2 separate regions of the Homo sapiens genome follow, and region 2 is linked to region 1. Evidence: promoter capture Hi-C in human tissues and cell types (Jung and others, 2019). All regions are on one chromosome and are shown on one strand. The core of a region is centred on a gene start or on the middle of the fragment in contact, and the rest is flanking DNA. Distances in the headings are between cores, read along the strand shown. Region 1 holds the start of THSD7A (thrombospondin type 1 domain containing 7A). Region 2 has its middle 96 kb from the start of VWDE.

The links. The method cuts DNA at HindIII sites, captures the fragments that hold promoters and counts their contacts. A contact is called where the count stands out against the background at its distance.
Region 2: a fragment that was not itself captured here is called in contact with the fragment with the promoter of THSD7A in region 1 in 1 of the 25 tissues and cell types used here (mesendoderm cells).

The regions. Positions count from the first base shown.
Region 1 is chr7:11,828,860-11,833,577 of GRCh38, forward strand. THSD7A (thrombospondin type 1 domain containing 7A) reads right to left here and starts at 3,339. Exons shown (of 28, transcript NM_015204.3): 1 at 2,898-3,339. The coding sequence starts at 3,087. RefSeq lists a silencer at 1,084-1,378 and enhancers at 2,936-3,476, 3,477-4,016. The HindIII fragment of the contact is 9,895 bases long and covers 1-4,718 here.
Region 2 is chr7:12,305,850-12,310,571 of GRCh38, forward strand. No RefSeq gene overlaps it. Among named protein-coding and RNA genes, the nearest start is that of VWDE, 96 kb to the right of the region's middle. RefSeq lists a silencer at 2,241-2,441. The HindIII fragment of the contact is 3,913 bases long and covers 600-4,512 here.

The DNA.
Region 1 (4,718 bases), core at 2,089-4,588:
TACATGCATTTTCTTCCACCTCTGCCACTGCTCAAACAACAAAACCAACCCCTTATCTATCTTCCTCTTCCTCCTCAGCCTATTCAATGTGAAGACGATGAAGATAAAGACCTTTATGATGATCCAGTTCCATTTAATGAATAGTAAATATATTGTCTCTTCCTCGTGATTTTCCAAATGTCATTTCCTTGTCTCTAGCTTACTTTATTGTAACAATATAGTATATAATACATATATAAAATATGTATTAATTGACTGTTCATGTTATCTGTAAGGCTTCTGATCAATAGTTGGCTATTAGTAGTTAAGTTTTGGGGAAGTCAAAAGTTATACATAAATTTTCCACTGTGCATGTAGGTCAGGACCCCTAATCTGTGCATTGTTCAAGGGTCAACTTTATATACCCTTATTTGTTGTATATATGTATTTATGTGTGTATTTATAATATATGTATCTGACATATGCATTCATATATATGAAGCCCTTTAGGGGTTAAAAAGGCCCTTAGATATCATTTTATCTATTTAATGAGTATTACAAAATAGGAAGCCAAGAACCAAAGTCATTAATGACTTTACCAAAGTTCTACAGCATGTTAGTAACATACACAGTTTGAGTTCCTGTCCCAGATCTTCATCCAGTGTAACAACTTTCACTACATCATTTTAATTCAATAATCTCACCATTAATATGATTCTCTATAATCCTCTGTACCAAGACCAAGCTTACCCCATTGGAACAGATATTTTGGAGTATGTCACCTCTTTTCTCTTCCAATTCCCTTCTTGCCTCTTTATTTTCATCAAGTGATACACACATAGTGATTCTGTAACTTCTAAATTTTCATTTATGGTATATCTTTTTTCTTTAAATATTCTCTAGTTCTTTTGAGAACTACGTTCAACTCCTTTACAGATATATTAAAGTCTCCTTTCCCTTTGGTAAAAAAAAAAAAATAAAGAAGTCATTATTTTGCTTTCCAATTGAATGAACTATTTTTTTTTTTTACCAAACCAAGGATCACCAGTCAAGAAATATCTTTAACATCCTCATCACACTAGCTTACATTTGCATACAGCTTTGAAGTTTACCAATCACTTTCTCATAACTCATGTGATTTTCACACACTGCAGATAGGCAGAAGAAGGTGTCATCACATTTACATGCAGTTGAGAAAACTAAGGGTCAAAATTTAAGTGAACTGCCAAAATTCCTACAGCTAGCAAGAGCTAGGACTGGCACTGGAATCAAGGTCTCCATATCATTGTTTCTGAGAGCTTCCCACTATTTTAAACTGTTTATTGGCTTGTGTTCCTACCATGACATTTATGATGACATATATTGACACCTCAGATGCTGTACAGTGAATGTTGGCTGGGCTCTTTTCCATCTGAATTATTGCTTGGCTCTTGTTACTTTGCTAGTATAAATTTCAACTAGGCAACTACTATTTCATCCTACACTGACTTACCTAAGAAGCTCTCCCCAAGCATCCATATGATACCATTTAATGGTAAATTATAATTTGATTAATGTTTGTCATTATGAATGTGCTTTTAACAAGTAAAACCCTAGCTTACGCTAAATTAGAGATCTTCAAATCTTCGTTTCAAATTGAAGTAAATTAATTTTATTTCATTTGAATTCATTACTCAACTGATCTTCAAACTTAAGGTGTTAGCAAGAATAATCTTGCTTTTTAAAATGTGTATATGTTTCATGTAATCTTCTAAGACAAATTGTGTACTTTGACTTTAAATAAATTTCTGTTTAATCTCCTCACTAAATTTCTGGATAGCTGCAACTTCTTTAAAAATTCCAGATATCGATAGTGATGCAATTGTAGAGTAGACTGAGCTGTCTCTTCAGTAGTGGTGCAGAGATGGGCTGAAGCAGGAAAAGACACTCACTCCCTGAAACCTGTTTGCAACCCCATGACGAATACATACTTTCCCTTTCAACTACAACATTCTCTTAATGTTTGGCATGACCAAGTTATTCTTAAATTACCCCCTAGCTCTAAGCAACAGGAATAATCTTTTCCCATTTTATTCCTATGAACATGTGAAGTTTCAGGTCCCCTAAGGAATTCTCAATGTTTTTTTAATGCAGAGAGAAAGCGAACCCGCAGAAAAGGGGTTGGTAATTCCTCACTCCGTATTGTTTTCCTGCCTGTCACGGCCCCCGCCAGAAACTCCAAGCATTTTGCCAATGGGTAATGATGGGCAGTTAGTAGCTGCTTTTGTTGGGTGGTTGAAAAACAAAGCAAAACAATTCTCAAGGAAGGAAGAGAAAGTTTGAACCCAGACATCCTAAAAGTTGTACACTTTAAAAATCCTCCGACTCGCTAGTTAATAATTGAGTTTTCAGTCTTTCCCTGAAGGCTCACTGGAGCCCCATTTGCCTTTAATTGTTGGAACCGCCCTCACTTGGCTTGTTTCTGAGGTGTCCCACATATCACAAAGCTAAAGTTAACAAATTCAACTCTATATCCACAAATGTCATGACAGTGAGCATATTGCTTTGCCTAAAGAATAAAGACTGAGACTAAACTCTTTGCTTGTTCTTTGCTAGAAATCTGTTTGAGAAACTCCTAGTAGAATGAAAATCCAGGGGTTAAAAATAATGCACTTCATCATGGAAGTGCGCGTTGCCCTCATTACAGAGCTGCGAGAGAAATATTCCAGCTACTCACTGTTGCCTCTTAGTTGTTATGCTTTTCTTTCCTAATTGCATCGGACATGACCTATTTGCTTCCTAAGAAATCATACTTTTTACCTTAGGATACCAGCATAACCAAGCCATCCAAAAGCACCGGGGTCCCTACAGAAGCCCACCAGCTCCTTAATGTGGCCCCAGATGTGAAGATGGGGAAAGGGTAACTCCGTCCCACTTACCAGTCTTCCACAGATAGAGGGTGGGCGCCTCCGCCTCGCCCTGCGCCGCAGCCCTGCCGGCGCCCGGGCGTAGCAGCAGCAGCAGGAGCAGCGGCAGCGGCAGCGGCAGCGGCAGCAGCTGCAGGACGCCCCGGCGCGGCCCCGCAGCGCCCCGGCTCCCGGACGCCCAGCGCCTGGCTTGCAGCCCCATGCCGCCTGCAGCCACTCCAGGGTCCAGAGCCGTAGCACGCTCGGCAGGGAATTTTTCTCCGCTCTTGGAACGTCTTTTCAAAGAGTACAGAAAGCAAAGCTCTTTCCTGCTATTGTTCGCTTCAGATGAGAAGGAGGGAGAGCGCGTCTAACACCAGGGAACAATAGCGTCCGCGGTGGTGGCCGTGGCCGCTGCCGCCGCCGCCGCCGCCTCTGGCGGGGATGCTGCTGCCGCTGCCATTCCTCGCAGAATGGCAGGTCCCGGCGGCTCCGGAGGCAACTGTCCTCAGGGGGCCCCAGCTGACTGAGCAGGTCTGCTAGGTCTGGGAGGCAGCGCAGCCCCCGCCAGCTGGAGGGGGAGGAGGGGGGCGTGAGCCCAAAGGAGCAGAGGGGGCTGGAGGCAGAGGGAGGCGAGAGCGCGAGGGCGAGAAAGGGGGCGAGCAAAGGGGAGAGGGGCCAGCCAGGCGACACCCACCTCCGACATACCCGCCTAAAGAACTCCGGTGCACATGGTGCGATGAAATATGTTTGGAAGGATGCACCAATAAAAAGAATCATCACCCGGCAGATTTCAGAATGACAAATAACAGGCATTGATATTCACTGTCATCCAAGGAGTCAAATGCTAGATCTAGTGGCATGCTATTCTTAGTACGTATTTACACAAAGCATCAGTGTTTATTATCTATTTTTAAGCCATGGCTTCTGAATTACTTTGTGTGGGGAGCAGTATTTGAGATCAGGTGTGAAAACACGAGAGCAGAAATGTTGACTTGTCAAAATGCACTTAAACCCTTCTTTAAATGTTGTTTTTAACTTAATCTATTATCAATAAAAATATGAGCAATATTGATGCTCTGTGACAAATTAAATTGTCTTTTAATAGCCTTTAAAACTGAATTAGTGTTAATGAGTATTTGCAATGCTACCTAATTACATAAATACAATTGTACAAAAAAAAAACCCTTAAAATTAAAATTATATTTCAGGTATAGAGTTCTGTCCCTTCATCTACTTCTTTCCCTCAAAAATATGCTACTTCTAAGTATTCAGATAGTTGTGAGTCAAACTGAGTCAGTAATGCTGTCTGGATATCTTGGAATTAGTAAATTCTTCATTTAAAATTTCCCTGACACCGATTTTTCTTAACTCTTACTGTAGCAAAATGCCTGTCGCAATCTAAATAAGGAACCACATGTGTTTGCATCTTTTGTCCTTTGTGTTTTCACTTTCTTCTACCAGTAGTAATAGAAGAATGTGTGTGAAGTCGGATAATGCTTTCCCCTTTCTCCTTCTCCCTTTAGCTAATAATAATATATTTTATTATTAATTCATTTCACAGTAAAGCTAAAATAGTAGGCATTTAACCATTAAAAATTCAGCAAACGGAAAGCCAAAGAAAACTACTATCCCATCAGCAATTTTCAGCCAAATAAAATAAAATTTTAAAAGCAGGAAAACTACTTTTTATGAATTTACTCCAACATAGCTACCCTAGAGTTTAAGATGAGGAAGCTACTCTTTCTGAAAGAGGAAACCTTCCATAAGGCTCCCTTGGGACCCTTGTCATTTTGCAAAGCCTTCCAGACACAGCCCCTCTGCATGCATTAGATTAAAAGCGGGTTTGATCAA
Region 2 (4,722 bases), core at 1,306-3,805, 480 kb after region 1:
CCATACAGCTGGCTCTGCATGAATTGAGCTCTTTATTGCAATTTCCCTGTCTCAATTAATCGGCTCTGTCTAGGCAGCAGGCAAGGAGAACCCATTGGGTGATACAGTCAAGGATGAGAGAGATTCTTAGAGTAAATAATTTTTGAAAAGACTGAAAGAATGGTTTGTGACAAGGTCTTTATGAGTGTGCCAAAGTCTCCTCTCCCATGATGAAGTTAATCTTCCCTGGTTACTGGAATTCCCTGGGGAGAGAATTAATGACAATAGAGTTTTTTTTTTGGAGGATTTCTCTTTTGGCAGATGAGAGAAATTCAGAAAGCCCCACCCTGCATTTTACTATTTTTCAAGTGCCTTTAGTTCGAATTACAAGCATATCTCAGAGACATTGTGTACTCAGTTCTACGCTATAGAAATAAAGCAAGTATCACAAGAACATGAGTTACACAATTTTTTGGTTATGCAGTGTATATAAGTTATATTTATACTGTACTATAGTCTATTAATTATGCAATATCATTATTTCTAGAAATACAATGTACATTCCTTAATTTAAAAATACTTTATTGCTAAAAAATGTTAGCTATCATCTGAGCCTTCAGCAAGTCAATCTTTGCTGTTAGAGGGTCCTGCCTTGACGATGATGGATGCTCACTGATCAAGGTGGTAGTAGCTAAAGGTAAGAACAGAGACCCCACTTAGGGGTTTGCCAGCCCCCCACCAACCCCAAGAAAATAACCACATGAAAATAAAGGAAAATTCTTGCTTTCCAAGGAAATTCCAGCTAGCCTTGAGAATTAAAGAACCCAATAAGGAAGAAGATATTAATAGCTTAAACAAGCTATTTAGTTTATAATTTGTTTATAGCTTTTGGGAAGAACTATTATTTAAACTACAAAGTAAGTAGCTTAAACAAGTCACCCAAGCAAGTCAACGTCTCAGAGTGTTTTGGTTCTCTAGAGAAACTAAAAGATACATTCGTTCTTGAGTTATTTTTCAGAAATCAGGATGTTCAGCAGATGGAAAATGATGACCGCTGTCACCTAGATCTCAGATAAAAGAGAACTGAGGACTGGACTCTGGCTGCCAGTCTTTGTTCTGAGTTTCTCCTTGAGGGACCTGGAAAGAGTCACACCTTCAAGCCATTATTCTTACTAACCTGGTTGCTCTGACCCAGTAAATTATGGCTTGTTCTCCTGGCCTGACTCTGGCATGGCACCCTATAATGATTAACAGTTTCCCCTATCTTAACTAACCTATGTTAAGCCCAAACCTTCACATTTCTTTCCGTCAACCACAAGTTTTTGAACAAAGCCTTGCTTCCTTAATTGCAAATCAAAGAATCTCTGAATCTTCCTATAATCTGTAAGCCCCTGCTTCAAGAAATCCTACTTTTTGGGACCAAACCAATGTATAACCTTCATGTATTATGATTTTGCCTATTACTTCTGCTCTCCTGAAATGTGCACCTGCCTAATAAACTCTTACTTGTAAGCCATCAGAAACTTCTTCTTAAGCATTAACTGCCTGTCCTTCTTGCTTGGCACCCTGCAATAAATGCCCATCTTTCTCTAGCTGCAAACGTTGGTATCATTTGGCTTTCTGGTGCCAGGCAAGCAAATACAAGTTCAGTTCAATAAGAAAGATTGGTATGGCTGTGGAAATAAGGCAACAGTGAAGTTTGCCGGTTCGATTGACCATTTCATGCACTTATTTCTCTGTAGCATATGCTCCTGTTTGACAGCATTTTACCTATAGCAGAACTTCTTCCCAAATTGGAGTCAAGCCTCTCAAACTCTGCCTCTGCTTTGTTAACGAAGGTGTTGTAATATTCTATATCTTGTTATTTCAATAATGTTTACATCATCTTTACCAGGAGTAGATTCCCTCTCAAGAAGCCACTTTCTTTGCTCATCCTTAAAGAGCAACTCCTTTTTTTTTCTTTTTTTTGAGATGGAGTCTCACTCTGTCGCCCAAGCTACAGTGCAGTGGCACAATCCCAGCTCACTGCAACCTCCACCTCCCAGGTTCAAGTGATTCTCCTGCTTCAGCCTCCCAAGTAGCTGGGATTACAGGCACACGCCACCATGCCCAGCTAATTCTTGTATTTTTAGTAGAGACGAGGTTTCACCGTGTTGGTCAGGCTGGTCTCAAACTCCCGACCTCGTGATCCACCTGCCTCGGCCTCCCAAAGTGCTGGGATTACAGGTGTAATCCCAACTCCTGTACCAGGCCAACTCCTTTGGTTTTTTATAAGTTTTATCATGAAATTGCTGCAAGTCAGTCACATCTTCGGGTTCCACTTCTAATTCTAATTATCTTGAGTGGATTTAGAACAACTTTTAAGAGCCCTAGGATTTTAAGGAAGGATAAGGAGGATTGGCTTCAACTTAAAGTCACCAGCTGCATTAGCTCCTAAGAAGAGAGTAAGCCTATCCTCTGAAGCTGTGAAGCCAAGCACTGACTTCTCCTCTTTAGCTGTGAAAGTCCTAGATGGCATCTATTTTTAATAGAAGACTGTTTAATCAACATTGAAAATCTCTTGTTTAGTATAGCCACCTTCATGAATGAAATTAACTAGATCTTCTAGATAACTAGATACAGCTTCTATATCAGGGCTTGCTACTTAACCTTGTACTTTTATGCTATGGAAACAGCTTCTTTTCTTCAACATCATAAACCAACCTCTGCTACCTTGAAACATCTCATTTTCAGCTTCTTCACCTCTCTCAGCCTTCATAGAATGAAAGAGAGTTAGGGTATTGCTCTGCAGGGAATGTTAAAGCAGGTTTTATCTTCTATCTAGACTACTAAAACTTTCTTCACATCAGCAAATAAGGCTATGTAATTTTCCCGTATGTGTTTACTGGAGTGGCACTTTTAATTTTCTTTAAAAACGTCCCGTGCATTCACAACTTAACTGTTTGGCACAAAAGGTCTAGCTTTTGGTCTATCCCAGCTTTCAACATGGCTTTCTCACTAAGCTTAATCATTTCTAGCTTTTGATTTAAGGTAAGATACGTACAACTCTTTCTTTCATTGAACATTAGAGGCCATTTTAGGGTTATTAATTGGCCTAATTTCAATATTACTGTGTCTCAGGGAAGAGGGAGGCCTGAGAAAAGGAGGAGATGAGGGAACTGCCTGTTGTGGCAGGAGTCAGAACTGACAAAATTTATGGATTAAATTTGCCATCTTATATTAGTGCAATTTGTGGAACTCCAAAACAACTACAATAGTAACATCAAAGATCACTGATTGCAGATCAACATAACAGATATAATAATTGTTTGAAATATTCCAAGAATTACCAAAATGTGACACAGAAACATGAACTAAGCATATGCTGTTGGAAAAATTGTTGCTGATAGATTTGTTTGATTCAGGGTTACCACAAACCTTCAATTTGTAAAAAACACAGTATTTGTAAAGTTCTGTAAAGTATGATAAAATGAGGTATGCTCAAAAATCAATCTACCAAAATGACATATTTTGCATAGCATTTTCCAAACTTCAATGGCTAGTTTTGTTGAAGAAGCAATTCAAGCATAATTGTTAACAACAAGTAAATTAGGTTAATATAAATGGGATAAAAGTTTATAAATAAAGTTGTCATAGTGGCAAACATCTTTTTCAATAACTTGAAATCTTAAAGTTATGCTAATATATGTAATAGATATTCATGAAATACTCAAGTCATTTCTAAATTAAACTGAAATATTAATTGCTGAATCTAAGTTTAAAGTATACATCTTTTGGCATCTTGCTTTTATGTGATACAGAGAAGCTAAACATGTCTCAGTTTGAAAACATGAAAAAATTATGAGGAAAGATACGGATTTTTATGGCTTTTAAAATTTTAAATATTGCTGGTTCTTTTAACATTTTGTTTTTCAGATTTAAGGAAACTTTTAAAAAAGCTATCTATAGCTTATAGCAATTTGGTAAGGTATACCCTTGTGATCAAAAATTGAAACGTTTACTTTTTCCTATCTAATCCCTCCAAAATCCAGAAACTATTCATGAGTATTCTTATTTTATGGCAATATATGTTCATAAATTCAAAAAAATATGCTTTTATAATAAAATACAATTGGTAATATTGACTATATTTCCAAGCCTTGGACTGGGATGCCATATTTCAGAATGTACATAGAACGAATCTATAGGTACTGCAGGAAAAGTCTCAAGTATGCATTGGCTTGGCTTTCTAGCCTCAAGAGGTCTTTAAAAGTCCAGCCTGATATTGCTTATCAAAAGTTTAGCAAAGCAAACTTGGAAAAAATAAAAGGGCTATGTTTTCAATTGCTATTCTTGGTGCACTTAAATAGGCCAATTTTCATGAGACTAGACTTATTTTGCAAACAAAATTAGTCTTACTCGGATTATCTTTGGTGTAAGTGGGGGCGTCGCTGTTAAGAGAAAAATTATATTGATGAAGAAAGACTATAGTGAACCTGTTATTAGATTGCAGCCGTGCTTATTGTTTGAGTTTTTTTTATCTACCTGTAGACTAGAGTGGATCCTGAATTCTGTTTTCCTCCAATATCTAGCTACATCCAATATCTGACTATATTTCCTCCAATATCTGGTTACAACCCTACAAGAACTGCTCTGTTCCTGAAGCCCTATAAATTGAGTTTGGACAACTTGATGTAAATTTCAAGGACAGATCTCATGTTTGATGTGTGAGCTACACAGATAATTTAACAATAACCAGAGACA